Linked DNA regions of Homo sapiens: region 2 is linked to region 1. Evidence: promoter capture Hi-C in 16 types of primary human blood cells and fetal thymus (Javierre and others, 2016). All regions are on one chromosome and are shown on one strand. Each heading gives the region's core, a stretch centred on a gene start or on the middle of the fragment in contact. The rest is flanking DNA. Distances are from core to core; before and after follow the strand shown. Region 1 holds the start of ZNF613 (zinc finger protein 613). Region 2 holds the start of ZNF347 (zinc finger protein 347).

Region 1 (2,700 bases), core at 190-2,689:
ATTATGCATAAAGGTGCTAAGAACATTCTTGTGAGTCTTTGTGAGGACATATCATTTCATTACTGTTGTATAAGTATCTAGGAGTGGAATTCCTGAGTCATAAGATTCTTGCTTTTATTTTGCAATTCTCCTAAGGAGTCATATAGTTCTGTAAAGCTTTTCACTCTTCACAGATTTGATATTTTAAGTAACACGGTATGTTTCTGAAATGGAGTTTGCATTTTGGGGCATTTTCTATAGATGTATCATGAAGGACACGTGAAAACTCTGTTATAAATATAAACACTCCACTGCATGCAGGAATTTCCTTCTCATTCTTCCAATGGAATTGTCTTAATTTAGGTTGGATCAGAATTAGAATTTACGTTATGATGACTATGTAAATAATATTTATAGGTCAGTCAGGTAGTATCCTATGATTACTTTTCTTGCACAACTTTTTTTTTTCTTTTTTCTTTTTTTCCTCATGAAGGGGTTGCCAAGGCTGTGTAGTGCAGTGGCTATTGATAGGTGCGATCATAGCTCACTGCAGCCTGGAACTCCTGGGCTCAAGCGATCTTCCTGCCTTGGTCTCCCCAGTAGCTGGGACTACACGTGTGCGCCATCGCGCCCGGGCTTGCACAACTTTTCATTCTCCCAGAGTCGCCTTATTTATTCCTTCCAGAATTTTAGGCACTTGGTTCTCCGAAAGCCCCGACGTTAAGATTGACTCCACCTACAGCAGAGGGAAGGCCCTTCTTCTCTCTTAAGGAAAATTCCCGCCTCCCGCATTGGATTCCTTTTCCGGTTGGCTGGTGGCTGCTCTCTTTACCTGCACTGGGCGGTGACCGTGTCCCTCAAATGTAAATGAGGTTCCAGGGGTCGCTGTTTTTTCACTTTCCGTTGACGGGGTGAACAATATCCTCGTACCTCGATTGCCTCTCCACACCCTTTTGGTCCTCAAAAATCTTCCTCTTGTCCTCCACATGTAGCTAGATGCGTTTTCGCGGTATATGACTCAGGGTGCGATTGCTCTTTTTCCTCTGTGGAGAAAGCGTTTTCACTTGTACGGACACCTAAGTGTTAAGATGGCCGCGCCCATTGTGTCATTCCCGTCATTCTTTGTGCAAAGCGGATGACTTTTCTCCCCAGCCCGCTAAGGTGCACGTAGCCATACCATGTTTGTCTTGGCTAAGCTCGACCCTCTGAAAATAAATGAAACTTGGGCGCAGGATTTAGGTGCCAAAATATGGAGTTCTTCACCGTCCCGCGCTATCCCTGAATACTTGGGCAGAAAAGGTCCACTTTACCTTCCGTACGTGCAGGATTCAAAGATGGCTGCCTCCAGTATCCGTGACGAGAGGACGCGAACTTACTACCTCCCAGTCGTCCGTGCTCCGTACACCTGCAACTTCAGACCTTCCTCGGCCGCCGTAGGCCGGCTTGGAGGCTGGGGGAGGGCCCAGAAGTGGAATAATTCAGGAAAGTGCAGGTTCTGGGAAGTCTCGGTGGGTTCCCCGCAAAATCAGGTCTGTGTGTGGGTCTGTCTGTCAGGATGAGGGGAGGAGGGTGTCTGTGGGCGTCCGTTTAGTGCGGAGCCGTGGAGTTTGTGGGGGAAGCGGGAGCAAGTGGGAGTCGGGGTATTGGGGTTGGGGCGTCTCCGGAGTCAGCCCTGAGGGATCCCAGTGGTCGGTGGTCAGAGTCTGTCCAGAGCAACACTTGGAAGTCCGTGATCAGGGTTTGGTGCCTTTGCGGGTCACTCTGTAGGGCTCGGTGATTGAGGACTGGAGTGAGGAGTGGTTTTTGTCAAGGAAAACTGTGTCTGCTTCGGATTCGGGGTTTTATTTTTTATTTTTGAGACAGGGTCTCGCTCTGTCACACAGGCTTGAGTGCAGTGGCGCAATCGTGGCTCACTGCAGCCTCCATCTCCCGGGGCTCAGGTGATTTTCCCACCTCAGCTTTCCCGAGTAGCTGGGACTACAGGTGAGCGCCACCACGCTATCTATCTATCTATCTATCTATCTAATCTGTCTAATCTAATCTATCTATCTATCTATCTATCTATCTAATTTATCTATCTAATCTATCTGTTTATTGCAGAGACGGGGGTCTCACTATGTTGCCCAGGCTGGTCTCCAACTCCTGGCCTCAAACGATCCTCTCACCTTGGCCTCCCAAAGTGCTGGGATTACGGGCGTGAGCCTTCGCTCCAGGCTGTAATCAGGATTTAATATGCGACTCAGTGAGGAGGAGCCCGGGTTCATGTGAACCTAGGTGTGTGGTCCAGGTTTTTGGATTAATCTAAGGGGGTGTGACCATGTTAGGGAGGTCTAGATGTGACAGTCGTGGAGAAGCTTGTGAAGGCTGAAGCCTTGGCAGCCAGGGCATCCTGATTGGTGTGTGTGTTCAGGTCCAACGGTACATTCCCTCTCAGTCCCTTTTAAGTTTCTCTGCAAGGACTGGTTTACAAATCTCATTTGACTTCTCACATCTCTCCTTTCTCTCATCCTGGTAAATAGGAAAGCTTTGGGGAAGATCAAAGATTAATCAAATCTAAAATGGTAAGGTGGCCTGGCGCGGTGGCTCACGCCTATATTCCCAGCATTTGGGAGGCCAAAGTGGGCGAATTGCTCGAGCCTAGAAGTTGGAGATCAGCCTGAACAACATAGCCTGTCTCTCCAAAAAATACAAATATTAACTGGGTGTGGTAACACACGCCTG
Region 2 (2,700 bases), core at 76-2,575, 1.2 Mb after region 1:
CGTCACCGGCTGTCCCCTCTTGCTGTCCCAGCACCACGCTGCTTGTCTGCCCTGGCTCCAAATCCCTCCTCCTCTCCCGGACTCTGTCTGAGGAGCCTCCCACTTTCTGGCCCTCTCCCTACCTTGCTGTCCTTCATGTCTCTGGACATCGAGCTTTTCTCTACATTTCCCCAGTTGCTTTTCTCCTTCTGCCTTCTCAGCTCCTTCTCTTACCATCTGCAAATCCCTCGCCCATCCTCTACTTTGCCATCTGGTTACGGGTTTCCCTCACTCTTTCCTCTCAGTTTTTCTACTTCTCTCTCTGTCTCTGCCCCTTTCTCTACCTGCTAATCCCCTTGGTCCACACATTCACAGGAAGGTTTGGACTAAGACGCCTGCATCTTGGAGGAGCGCATTTTCCAGGGGCTGGAGCTGGGCAGGCAAGAACACCGGGTGTCACAGGACAGGCCCCGGGCACCTCCCCAGCGCGGGCTCAGGAGAAGCGGGGACTGCGAAGGGGAGGCCTGGGGAGCAGCAGGGCCCGGCACGAGGAGGAGGGAGGTGGCGGGGCGACGGCGCCTTAGAAGAGGGGTGGGGTCTGCAGGATGCCAGGACCAGGCAGAGGACGCGGCCTCGCCGGTACCGGGGCTGAGGAGCTGCGCTCCAGGGGCCGACGAGGGCGAGGCTGGGAGGCACCCAGGGCGGGAATCCACCTCGCGGGCGAGGACTTTAAAAAGCCCGGGGCGGGAGGAGGGGTCAGGAAAGGGTTTTAAGCGGGAGGAAGACGCGAAAGGCCGGGGACAGGGAGAAGCCTCAGAGCTACTTCAACCCAAAGAGAAGCGACTCCGAACCCACACCGCGAGTCAGCTGGGGTGGAGGGCGCGGTGCGGGGATCTTAAGGTCTGTAGCTGCCGGGCGCAGTGGCTCACGCTTGTAACCCCAGCACTTTGGGAGGCCGAGGCGGGCGGATTACCTGAGGTCAGGAGTTCGAGATCAGCCTGGGCAACACGGTGAAACCCCGTCTCTACTAAAAATACAAAATTAGCCGGGCGTGGTGGCACATGCCTGTAATCCCAGCTACTCGGGAGGCTGAGGCAGGAGAATCGCTTGAACCTGGGAGGCGGAGGATGCGGTGAGCCGAAATCGCGCCATTGCACTCCAGCCTGGACAACAAGAGTAAATCTCCGTCTCACCAAAAAAAAAAAAAAAGAAAAAAAAAAAGGTCTGTAGCGAGCCCGGGAACTGGCTGCGGAAACGGGGCACGGCGGTTCGCAAGTTTAATCCATACTGAGGGACACTCACGCTCGGCGGCGTCACCCGCACCCAACACGATCCGCTTCCGGAACTGCAGAAAACTGCGCGTGCGCGGAAAAGAGCCCGGGCACTCTGGGGGCGGGGCCTGGGGAGAGGCGGGGTCTGCGGACGAAACGCTGGGGCGGAGCTGGGGCGGGGTCTGCGCTTCCCTCAGCCTGCCTAGCCCGCAGTCTCATTTTTCCCGGTTTAGAAACGCTGGAGTGTTCACTATGTCCCCGGGAGCACCGTTCCAATTTGAAGCAGTTTTAAGGTGAAAGAATAGACTTACGTGGACCACTTATGATAGAAACCAAAATGATTTCCTCTTACCAAGTTGAAAACGGTTTATGTTAAAATTGTTTGCCGGCGGGTTGGACCCAGTCCTGCTAGGGAGTCTGCTGCAGCTCAGGAACGGGGATCTGGGAATCGGGGATCTCGGTCTGGGAACTGGGATCTTAGTGGAGGATCCACGAGGCACGGCGATTGGATCCAGCAATTCCTGCAATTAAAATGTATTTAATTTAACTAAAATGTCTGGAAATTATCTCTGAGGATGATTCAAAGTAGAATGGGAAATGCAGCATCCTACCTGGACGGATATGCAATTTAATGCAGTAGCCCAACAGAACCTCCTTTACATTTCAAATCCCCATTCTCCCCAGTGGAAGAGTCAAGCCTGTGCTCAATTCATGGGAAGGTTAAGGCCGATAAGTTAGATCACCAAGGGCTGCTTTATTGTTCTTTAAAACATATATTTTTGTAAAGATGGGAGTCTCGGCCCAGGCTGGTCTCCAACTCTTGACCTCAAGCAATCCTCCTGCCTGGGCCTCCAAAATTGCTGGGATTACAGGAGTGAACTACTGTGCCCAGTCAACTACTGATTTAAACCATGTGAATTTTTAAAAAATAGAGATAAACTGCATTATTTTTGCTTATATTCGTTATTCCGTTCCACACTTGAAATGACTTAACCACAAACAACTTTGACATAATCTTTCTTTGCATCAAAATATGCTTAAATCAATAATTTCTAAATATCATGTAATTTCAAATTCACTTTATGGGCATTCTGAAGGGAACTTGACACAGTACTTTTTATTTTAAAATTGTAATCTATATTGGGTCTATTTTTTTGTTTTCTGTTTCTTAATGTTCTATCAGATGTGGATAACAGAGTGTGGAAAATAGTCACCACATGACAATTGGATTTATTTTCGCCTAAAGAATAGTTTTCCAGTATTTCTAACGTACCATCCCAGTACATTGACTGAACTAAAGACTCACAGGGATACCCTTTTTTCATGTTTATAGAGAACCTAGTTTATACCTGCTATTGTCTTATGTACATTTTCATGTCACACAATTTTATCTCCAAACAACACCCTTATTTATATACACCGTATAGTTTTCACTTTAACAAAATATTAA

The links. Contacts are between HindIII fragments. The CHiCAGO score rates a contact against its expected background, and 5 or more counts as called.
Region 2: a contact is called between the fragment with the promoter of ZNF347 here and the fragment with the promoter of ZNF613 in region 1, in 4 of 17 cell types (non-activated CD4 T cells, naive CD8 T cells, naive CD4 T cells and 1 more). The highest score is 8.7, in non-activated CD4 T cells.

Annotation. Positions count from the first base shown.
Region 1 is chr19:51,926,033-51,928,732 of GRCh38, forward strand. ZNF613 (zinc finger protein 613) reads left to right here and starts at 1,440. Exons shown (of 6, transcript NM_001031721.4): 1 at 1,440-1,508. RefSeq lists enhancers at 460-1,223, 1,079-1,378. The HindIII fragment of the contact is 2,177 bases long and covers 155-2,331 here.
Region 2 is chr19:53,157,728-53,160,427 of GRCh38, forward strand. It overlaps ZNF347 (zinc finger protein 347), which reads right to left and starts at 1,326. Exons shown (of 5, transcript NM_032584.3): 1 at 1,282-1,326. RefSeq lists an enhancer at 1,229-1,523 and a silencer at 1,259-1,508. The HindIII fragment of the contact is 5,586 bases long and covers 1-2,700 here.